Linked DNA regions of Homo sapiens: region 1 is linked to region 2. Evidence: promoter capture Hi-C in 16 types of primary human blood cells and fetal thymus (Javierre and others, 2016). All regions are on one chromosome and are shown on one strand. Each heading gives the region's core, a stretch centred on a gene start or on the middle of the fragment in contact. The rest is flanking DNA. Distances are from core to core; before and after follow the strand shown.

Region 1 (5,171 bases), core at 1,318-3,817, 250 kb before region 2:
GTTCATTCCTAAATATGCTATTATTTAGTCGTTGTTGAGACAGAAAATTCTAAAAGCTCCCAGAGAAAAAGAAACAATAACCACATTGACATCAAACTTCTCAACATCAAACTGAAAACAATTGAGTAATATTTTCAAATGACTGAAGGACAAGAGCGTTTCAAAACCTAGTATTTTGTATGCATTCTAACTACTATTAAAATGTGATTATGAATTAAAAATATTTTCAGGCACATAAATTCTCAAAACATTTACCACATCAAGATCTTCTTTGAAACCATTTAACAAATTGCTTTCTTAGTGTCTGCCCTAGGGATTACAATTAGCATTTTAATTTCCAAAAAAACTACTTCAAATTAATACTAACTTAATTTCAGTAATCTACAAAATCTTTGCTCCAATATACCTCCGTTCCCTCCCTGCTTCTTTGTGCCAATATGGTTATGCAAATTTCATCTTTATACTTTATACAGCTATCAGTACAGTTTTATAATTATTGCTTTATGCAGTTGATTTTAAAAAGAGAAAGAGTTAAATCAGAAAGAGAGAAGAGTTATAAACAAAAATATGTTTATACTGCCTTTTATATTTATCCATTTAGTAACCTTTACTGGTGCTTTTTATTTTTTCATGTGGATTCAAGTTACTGTCTAATGTCCTCTCATTTCAGCCTGAAGGGCTCCCTTTTGTATTTCTGATAAGCTCTACTAGTGATGAGTGCTCTCAGTTTTTGTTTATCTGGAAATATCTTAACATCTTTATTTTTGAAGTAGAGTTTTGTTGTATAGAGAATTCTTGATTGAGAATCTTTTGACACATTGAAGTTGTCATCCCAGTCTTCCTGCCTTCATGATTTCTAATAAGACGTTAGCTGTCAATCTCACTGAAGATCTCTTGGACACAATAGGTTGTTTTCCTCTTGCTGTTTTCAAGGTTTTCTTTTTGTCTTTGACTTTCACCCACTTGACTATGATGTGTCTAGTGTGGATCTCTTTGAGTTTTTCTAGTTGGGGTTTGTTAAGCTTCTTGAGGTATGTACACTAGCGGTTTTCCCCACACTTGGGAAATTTTTAGTCATTACTCCAAATATTTTTTATTTCTCTTTATGCTTCTTTTCTTCTTCTGGAACACTCATTAAATATATGTTGGTATGCTTGATGATATCCCACAGGTCTCTGAGGCTGTGTTTATTTTTCTTCATTCTGTTTTTACTCTGTTCCTCAGATAGATAATCTTTACTGACTTATCTTTGACTTTGCCAATTCTTTCTTTTGACAGCTCAAATTTGCTATCAATCCCCTTTAGTGAATTTTTCATTTCAGTTATTGTATTTCTCCACTCTAGGATTTCTATTTGGCTTTTTTGGGGGTAATTTCTATTTCTTTGTTGATATTCTCTATTTGGTGAGATATTGTTGTCATCTTTTTCTTGAATTCTTTAGGCATGGTATTCTTTCATTCTTTGAACATATTTTAAATAGTTGATTTAAAGTCTTTGTCTACTAAACTTGACATCTGTGTGCCCTAAGGGATATTTTCTGACGGCTGTTTATTTAACTGTGTATGTGGTATACTTTTCTGTTTCTTTGCATGTCTTATAAATTACTGATGAAAATGAACTTTTTTTTTTTTTTTTTTTTGAGATGGAGTCTTGCTCTGTCACCCAGGCTGGAGTGCAGTGGCATGATCTCGGCTCACTGCAACCTCTGCCTCCTGGGTTCACACCATTCTCCTGCCTCAGCCTCCCGACTAGGTGGGACTAGAGGCGCCCACCACCACGCTCGGCTAAGTTTTTGTAGTTTTAGTAGAGATGGGGTTTCACCATGTTAGCCAGGATGGTCTCCATCTCCCGACCTCGTGATCTGCCCACCTTGGCCTCCCAAAGTGCTGGGATTACAGGCGTGAGCCACTGCGCCCGGCCGAAACTGAACATTTTTGATAGTGCTATGGCTCGGTTATATTTTGTCCTCGTCCAAACTCTTGCTGAAATTTGATCCCCAATGTGGCAGTGTTGAGAGGTGGGCCTAGTGGGAGATGTTTGGGTCGTGAGGGTGGATTCCTCATGAATATATTCATGCTTTCCCATGGGGGTTAGTGAGTTTTCCGTCTTGTGGGAATCAATTAGTTCCCATGAAAGCACGTTGTTTAAAATGGTCTGATTTCCTCGATTCCTCTCTCTTGCTCCCCTTCTCGCCATGTGATCTCTTTGCACATGCTCACTTCCCCCTGGCTTTCTGCCATGAGCTGAAGCAGCCCAAGGTCTCATCAAATAGAGATGCCCAATCTTGAACTCTCTAGCCATCAAAATCATGAGCCAAATAAACCTATTTTCTTTTTCCTTTCTCTTTTTTGAGACAAGGTCTTGCTCTGTCACCCAGGATGGAATGCAGTGGTGCAATCACAACTCACTGTAGCCTTGACCTCCTTGGCTCATGCAATCCTCCCACCTCAGCCTCCTAAGTAGCTGGGACTACAGATGTGAACCACCATGCCTGGCTAGTATTTTATTTTTTTTGTAGAGATGGAGTCTCACTATGTTTCCCAGACTAGTCTTGAACTCCTGGGCTTAAGCACTGCTCCTGCCTCAGTCTCACAAAGTTCTGGGGTTATAGGAATGAGCCACTAGGCCCACTATCTTTTTAAAAATAAGCTACCCACCCAGTCTCAGGCATTCTGTCATAGCAATATGACAGACTAAGATAGATAGTATATTGTAACAACATGGTATGAGATACCCTCCCCCAGGTTTGTTGCTATTGCTGCTTTTTATGTCATTGCTTTCCTGTTTGCTTCTTATGTGCTTAGTGCCTTTCCTGGACTAATTCTGTAGATTCTATATTCCCTGCAATATGCAGGTCCTGAGTTCTCTGTTAGCATTTTAAAGAAGGGTTATTATTTTCATTTTTAAGTCTGGTTTCCTAGGGTTCAGTCCTAGGTCAGTATAATTTAGTGGTCAGCCAATAATGATTGGTCTGAAGATTTCCCTAAATGCTTTGTCTGTATATCTTTCACCATTTGCCAAGGGGATCTGTAGCTGAAGGCACAGCTTCACACTTCAGGTAGTTTATAAGACAGCCTTAGCTTTCACTTTTTGCTTGTACAGGGACTCAGGTTCAGCCAGAGGTGAATGAGTGGGGCCTTCTTCTTTCCAAGGTCTTTCCCAAGCATGCATATGAGTACAGCCTTCTACATCCCCAGGAATATGTTGGAGCTTTTTAAAGTTCCCTGTGGTTTTCTAGTTCTCAAGAGCTTCCTTTTAAATTTTTATTGCTGTTGGCCAGGCTCTTGTTTGCTGCAACCAGAGTCACAGACTTAGGCAGCTGAGATATTGCCATCAGATTGCTATTGTTTTTGGCAATGCCCTGGGACAGCTTTTTTGTTGTTGTTGTTGTTTTTGTCCATGAGCTGAGTTGTGAATCAAATGAAATAGCCACAACATCTTGGGAACAGAGATTTTCCAGGTAGCTGCTAATTTGGACAAAATATTGAGTGTGCTCTAGGCATGGGGCTTTTAATGGAGCTCCAAAAGAGGTCAGTCATCTCCATTAGCTCCATGTCTGCTGGCTTTTCATGGCTACTGGGCCACCAAGCTGGAGAGGGAGAGAGGATGGGAATAGCTTCAAGTTAAAATGCCACAGACACCATTGTCTTATTGAAGTTCAGTATTTTTCTCTTGGATGGATGATTTTCAGTTCCTTCTGTGGCTTTGGTATACTTCCAAAGTTCTGAAATGGTTGATTTGAGTTGTTTTTGCCAGTATTTTTGTTGTTTTTAAGGGATAATGGCTCACCAAGTTCCTCATTTCACCATTTTAGAAGGCAATCTCCCTTGATAGCATTTTAAAAAGAGAAGTACCCCAGTAAGATGGGAAATGAATACAAGATGAAGTAATGAGATATGCAAGGTAAAGGGGAGAAACGTATCTTACAAAAGTATATTGTTACCTAAATTAGCAATCCCTCCTCCTGAAAAATTTATATATCATAGATAATTCAGAAATATAACCCGAAACCAGAAGCATGGTAGGGAAGAGGAGTGGGAAACTGTTAGTAGGAAAGTCTAGAGGGTGATGGGAGTATGCCAATGCACTTGTTCTGTTTAAGGAAGAGTTATTAAGCTTAAAATGCTGTTAAGCTTAAGAAGTTGACAAGGGAAAGAATAAACATAAGTAAGGGTCATAATAAGTTAGGGTCAACAATGAGAAAAGTATACATAGAATGTATTATATTCTAAAAAACAAATTTAACATAGTCAATGGAAAGTATAAAATCCAAACATTTCAATGGAAGAAAACAATTTTGAATTATCCCAAAGAGGATGGAAAGCAGTAAAAAGAAAGTACAGTAAATAGAAAACACAAAACGAGACAGCAGAAATAAGTTCCAAGATAACATTAATTAACATAAATATAGGTTAATTCAACCCAGAAATCAAAATAAAGAGACTCTGATTGAATATAAAAACAAAATCCAATAAAATACTGTTAGCAAAAGATAATTTATGCAAAGTTGGAAAGTAAAAGGTTAAAAAAATCTAGGCACATTAAAAAAAGAAAGAACTCCAAGGTAGCAATTTTAACATCAGAAGAAAAATTAATTTAGGGCAAAAATAACATACAGGACAAATAGAGATGTTATATACTAACAAGGGATAATAAATCAAGAAGAAATAACAATCATAAACACATATGCATCCAACAATGTAGCCTCAAAATGTATACTGGGGAAATAGATATATGAACAATTATATGCAGAGATTTTAGCACAGCTCTTTCAGAATATGAATCAAGAAGGCCAAAGATAAGCAAGATAGAATATTTGAATAATATATTTAATAATTTTGAACTAAAACATACACACACAAACATATGCTTTTATACTTAACAAAGGAAATATCCATCAATTACAAAAAATGAATTATGAGGAAATTACATCCTCCAATTATAGTGAAGTAAAGTTAGAATTCATTATAAAACGGGCACTTAAAAATATCACATTTCTGGGAAGAATTAATATTAACTTTGGGCTAAAGAGGAAATGACAAGGGAAATTATGAAATACTTAGAACCAAATTATAATGTCAAAGTGTGTGCTGAATCACAATGTCAACATTTATACTAAAGCAGTACATAAAAGAATTTAAAATTTATGACTATGCTTATTAGAAAATAAA
Region 2 (5,862 bases), core at 817-3,316:
CATACTAACAGCTAACATTTCTATATGCATGTACTATGTGCCTGGTTTTATGCATATTTACATTTGCATACATGAGAAAGCCTATTTATATGTGTTACAGACCTGCAATATGTATGTCTATATCCCATCAGCTATAATATTCAAATGTGTCAACTCACGTGATGCTCACAACCCAGTGGGGTAGAAAGTATTATCTCCCTTGTACAGATGGAGGAAACCAAGGCATAGACTTTCCATAGTCACACAGCAGAGGCAGAATTTGAACCCAGGTACCCTGGCTCCGAAGCGTTTCCTCCTAAGAGCTATGCTGCCTTTCAGTATACCATTGCGATTTCACAGGTCACCATGGTTAACCATTTCATTTATTTCCTTTGACCTCACTTTTAATTTGTTATTGTGTCATATTTTATGTACCCTTGTAAGTTACCTGAAATCCTTTCTGCCACAAGGTGAGGTAAGGCATAAATAAACAGTGCAGAGTGTGGTAAACGGCACAAGAAGGCACAGCTAAATTGCTACCCCGGGGTAAGAAGATGAATCCAGGCTGTCCTGCAATGGAATGGATTTATTTTCTTGAGCTGTGGTGAGCTCCCATCCCTGGAAGAGCTGGCTTGGGTGGCCGTCTCTCTGGGAGGCTGGGGAAGGCCTTCTTCCAAGGAGACGGAGCTGGGCCAGACGAGCCCCGAGGCCCCTTCTTAGATTCTCAGGGTTTATGAAAATGCCAATAAGACAAACTGAGGCACTTAATGGAGCTAATGCAGCAAGGCAGCCCTTGGGCCGGAACCAGGACCTGGGGCTTTTCATCCGGGTCTATTACTGGACCACACATCTACAAGTAACAAATAAACGAGCAGAGATTCCGTTCCAAACTCTCGGCCCAGTGTATTCCTTTCCCAGAGCTCTCTGGCTGCTGTTGCAAGATGACCAAAGGATGCTGTCACTGTCCTCAGTCTTTTTATTGGGGCGATGGAGAATGAGGCAAGGAGGGGCTGGGTGGCCCCGCAGATGCCCCATGACACCATCATTCGGCAAGGTTATGCATTTGACGAATGCCCTGCAGTGGAAGGAGCCCAGGCTTCTCTTCCTGTTTTTGATGTTTACTTGGGGGTTGATCTTGTGCGAGTTTCTTCAGCTCCCGGGACCCTCAGTTTCCTCATCTGCAAAATGGAGTTAATACAACAGCAAAGCTGCTGTGGAGGTCCCATGAGCTATTACAGGGCTTTGCACCCTTAAAAATGCGGTTGAGGAAGTACCGATACGCCTGCCTCAGGGGATCTGGGGAGGGCTGGGCTGTCCCCATGCCTGAGACCAGGCAGGCCCGTCTTGGAGGGGCGGTGGCCAGCGTCCAGGTGCTGCCAGCTTCCTACCCCTTCAGCCTCCTGCCCACCACTGCTCCCTTGGCTAGAACGAAGCCGCGTTCCCGACAGACAGGCTCACGCACGGTGATATCCGTGGGAGTGCGGGCGAGCAGCCCCTCCTCGCCGGACCCCGGGGGCTTCGGGCAAAAATGGAGAGCAGGCAGAGGTCACATCCTCCTCCTCTTCCTCACGCTCCCGGGCTGCGTGCCCACAGGGGCACAGCCCTGTGCGCGGTGCCACCGGGGGCCATCAGGCTGGGTTAGAGGAAGGCCCGACCTCCGCGCAGCAAAGAAAACAAACACAGATGTGTTTGGCTGGGACCGGGAGGGAGAAAGTGGCCCCCTTCCCCCGCCCGCGCGCTCCCCCGGGCGTGAGGCTCTCCGGGCGGCGCGGGGCGCGGGCGAGGCTGACAGTCCCCGGCGGCCCCTCCTCCCCCACGGGGTGCGCGCCTGGCCCGGCCCAGCCCCCTCTCCGGGGTTTCCCCGGGTGCTCTCCTCGCTTTCTCTTTGTCTCTGCTGTTCTTTCTCGGGCTCCCGGGTTCCCACCCGCCTGTGCTCTCCCTCTCGGGCGTCCGGGCCGGTTCCCTTTAACTTTCTTCTTTCCCGGGGTGAAAACTTTGCTCGGAGCTGGCGGCAGCTCGCGGACGTTATTGGCCGGCGCCCCGCCCGGCGGCCCCGCCCCCCGCCCCCGCGCTCCCCTCCGCCCCTCACTCCCAGCGCGAGTGGCGGCGGCGGCGGAGCCTTCGGGGGCGAGCGCGCGTGTGTGTGAGTGCGCGCCGGCCAGCGTGAGTGTGTGTGCGCCCCGGGCGCGGGCAGGGCAGCACTCCGAGCTCGGCGGGAGCGGCGGGAGCCGGGCGGCCGCGTAGTCACTCGGGCGAGAGAGGCGGCGGCGGGGCCGGGACCGGGGCTGGGGCTGGGGCAGCGGCGGCCGCGCCGGGCATGGAGCTGGCAAGCCCGCGCTGAGGCGGGACGCGCCTGCTAGCAGCGAGCGAGAGGCTCTCCGGCGACCGGCGCGCGGGCTCCCCGGAGGGGCCAGGCAAACTTTTCTTTCTCTTTTGCCCCCTCCAGAGGTAAAGTCCCGAACGCGGACTTTCCGGCGGGGACGCGATCGGGGGGCATCTGAGAGGGACCCCGGGCTGCGAGACGAAGGGGCGCGGGCCGTGCAGAGTCGGGGTCCCCCAGCTCTCCTGCGCCCGAAACTTGGGGTGCGAGGGGGGCTGGTCGCGGACGGGGAGACCGGCTCAGGCATGCCCCTCGGGCGGCGTGGGGGCGGCGGTGGCGGGGAAGCAGAGCGTTCTCCCGCCGGGCGGGGAAGAAGGGGCGCGAGCGGTGCGGACTTGGAGGGCCCCGGCTTCGCCGCCCGCGGGACTTTGGGGGAGAGAGGCGGGCAGTCGGCTGCGGGGTGGGTGCCCAGGAAGCCGGGCGTTCTCCCGCATCTCCGCTCGCCACCCCGCCGAGAGCTGGAGGGCGCGGGGCGGGCTGGCTGAGCGCAGCTCCCTTCTCTCCGCAGGCGCCTTCTGCGGCAGGCGGACAGATCCTCGGCGCGGCAGGGCCGGGGCAAGCTGGACGCAGCATGATGCGCGCAGTGTGGGAGGCGCTGGCGGCGCTGGCGGCGGTGGCGTGCCTGGTGGGCGCGGTGCGCGGCGGGCCCGGGCTCAGCATGTTCGCGGGCCAGGCGGCGCAGCCCGATCCCTGCTCGGACGAGAACGGCCACCCGCGCCGCTGCATCCCGGACTTTGTCAATGCGGCCTTCGGCAAGGACGTGCGCGTGTCCAGCACCTGCGGCCGGCCCCCGGCGCGCTACTGCGTGGTGAGCGAGCGCGGCGAGGAGCGGCTGCGCTCGTGCCACCTCTGCAACGCGTCCGACCCCAAGAAGGCGCACCCGCCCGCCTTCCTCACCGACCTCAACAACCCGCACAACCTGACGTGCTGGCAGTCCGAGAACTACCTGCAGTTCCCGCACAACGTCACGCTCACACTGTCCCTCGGCAAGAAGTTCGAAGTGACCTACGTGAGCCTGCAGTTCTGCTCGCCGCGGCCCGAGTCCATGGCCATCTACAAGTCCATGGACTACGGGCGCACGTGGGTGCCCTTCCAGTTCTACTCCACGCAGTGCCGCAAGATGTACAACCGGCCGCACCGCGCGCCCATCACCAAGCAGAACGAGCAGGAGGCCGTGTGCACCGACTCGCACACCGACATGCGCCCGCTCTCGGGCGGCCTCATCGCCTTCAGCACGCTGGACGGGCGGCCCTCGGCGCACGACTTCGACAACTCGCCCGTGCTGCAGGACTGGGTCACGGCCACAGACATCCGCGTGGCCTTCAGCCGCCTGCACACGTTCGGCGACGAGAACGAGGACGACTCGGAGCTGGCGCGCGACTCGTACTTCTACGCGGTGTCCGACCTGCAGGTGGGCGGCCGGTGCAAGTGCAACGGCCACGCGGCCCGCTGCGTGCGCGACCGCGACGACAGCCTGGTGTGCGACTGCAGGCACAACACGGCCGGCCCGGAGTGCGACCGCTGCAAGCCCTTCCACTACGACCGGCCCTGGCAGCGCGCCACAGCCCGCGAAGCCAACGAGTGCGTGGGTGAGTGGGGTGCGGCGGCGGAGCCGGCGGCGGGTGGGGCCGCGGGCGGGAGCTGCTGGGCCTCGCAGCGGCGAGTTCATAGGAGCGCGGGTCGAGGGAACGGCGGGAGGCGCGTTCGCCGATGCCCGGGACCCGGGAGGGCTCAGAGCAGGTCCACTCGCTCGCGTGGCGCTCGTGGTGGACGCCCGAATTTGCGCCCAGTGCTCTCTGCGAAGCCAAGAAGCAGCAGGAGAAATGTTCCCGGGAGGGGGTTTGGCAGAACATTTGCAGATAGGTCTCCGCTAACCCTGGATCCAAACGCAAACATTCATTGCCTTCCCCCTCGTTGGGTTGGACGCTGGGATTCACCTGCACCCACCCCCCTTTCCCAAGGCTGCAGCTGGGCTCGCGGTTGGGGACCCCGGCCCAGTTCCTGGGAAGTTCCAACTCCACACCTACAAATCCCTTGGGAGATGGCAAAGAACTGTTTGTAGTTTGGGGTCAGTTCGGTACCCGACGAGTATCACTCCTGCCCTCCATTTGTCTTTTCATGATTTGAAACTATTTTTGTCTCTCTTTTGAACAGCGTGTTTGTGTTAGCAAAAGAAGAATGATGTGATTTCAATTAATTACTATCTGCTGATTACAACGGAGCGTTCAGTAATTATTTTAAACGAATTCAATTCTGGTCTAAAAAAGTATACCAGATTTTTTTTATTAGCTTCAGGCTTTGGTGAAATTAAACAGTTTTGAATTAACTAAGGGTCCAGCTTCTCACTTTTTAAATAGGGTTTCATTTCCTGAAAGAGAAATCTGACAAAACCGGGTGAATACGGCTGGGTCAGAAATGAAGCTAAAAAAGGATACGTTCTGCTTCTGAATTGGACGACTTTGCTGCTGCAGAAGCTCTCAGAAATCAGTTTCTCCCCATAAAAAGAAAAAAAGGGTGAGGGGAGGTAGCAAGACTACACCTTACTTTTTCAGTATGGGAAGTAAAGCTCCAAAGCCCACATTTATTTGAGCGAAAATTATTTAGTCTGTAAATGTCCCATTTGGTGTGCATCCTTTATGAACGTACAGATTTTTCCTCTCCATCTCCCCATCTCAAACAGCCAGTGTGAGGCTCTTCAATTGCTTTGCCCCTCTTAGGCACATTTCAAAGTTTGCTGGTCCCCACAAACACACGTTTTGAGGTCTGGTTCTGATTAATTGTGTCATGTTGTTGTCGAATAGTTTGTGCCTCATGACTGTGGATGCAGAGTTTTGAGCAAGGGAATGGAAAACATGTCTTGGAGGGCCGGATCGCCGCAGAGGCCCAGTCAGGCGTCCTGGTCTGAAGACGCCGGGCCTCCCGCCTCCTGTTGCAAGGGAGGCCTCCATTTTTACGCTCGTGTCCCGCTCTTGCAGACATAATTGTTTGTCCCCTTTCTTTTAAGGATCAGAACTAGTTTCCAGTCTGAAGACACTTTTCAAGATTTCGCAGAGAGAGAGAGAGTGTAGTTACACTCCGACTTAGTAGTCTTCTAGAATAAAATTCCTTTGATCTGCTCAGTTCCCTCGGAAATGTTGGTTTTTCCCATCTCTTCTTTTCCCCCTCCTTCCTCTTTTCTTTTCTTCCCTTTGTGCGTAAAAGCCCTTTATTGACATTTAAAGGGATTCCCAGGGTTTTGCTATCAGTTTTAGTTTGTATGTGCATATGAAAGATAACTTTGTCTTGTCACCATCAGGGTCTAATTGGACAAATGCAAGTGAATACATTTAGGCGAATAAACTTGATGTGGTGGTGAAATTTCTCTGGCTTGAAGATTTGCCTTAGCGTTGGTATTGTTCAGATTCACCACCCACCCCCAGGTCTTGCCGTCAGTTTGGATGTGGACACGTAACCTGCGTTTGTTATAATGATGGTCATGCACTTGAAATAATCTCTATAGTTTG

Evidence for each region. The method cuts DNA at HindIII sites, captures the fragments that hold promoters and counts their contacts. A CHiCAGO score of 5 or more calls a contact.
Region 1: a contact is called between a fragment that was not itself captured here and the fragment with the promoter of NTN1 in region 2, in 2 of 17 cell types (total CD4 T cells and naive CD4 T cells). The highest score is 5.7, in total CD4 T cells.

Annotation. Positions count from the first base shown.
Region 1 is chr17:8,773,292-8,778,462 of GRCh38, forward strand. No RefSeq gene overlaps it. Among named protein-coding and RNA genes, the nearest start is that of SPDYE4, 17 kb to the left of the region's middle. The HindIII fragment of the contact is 3,094 bases long and covers 1,021-4,114 here.
Region 2 is chr17:9,019,444-9,025,305 of GRCh38, forward strand. NTN1 (netrin 1) reads left to right here and starts at 2,067. Exons shown (of 7, transcript NM_004822.3): 1 at 2,067-2,142; 2 at 2,868-3,948. The coding sequence starts at 2,931. RefSeq lists silencers at 1,429-1,478, 1,529-2,318 and an enhancer at 1,465-2,008. The HindIII fragment of the contact is 7,248 bases long and covers 1-5,862 here.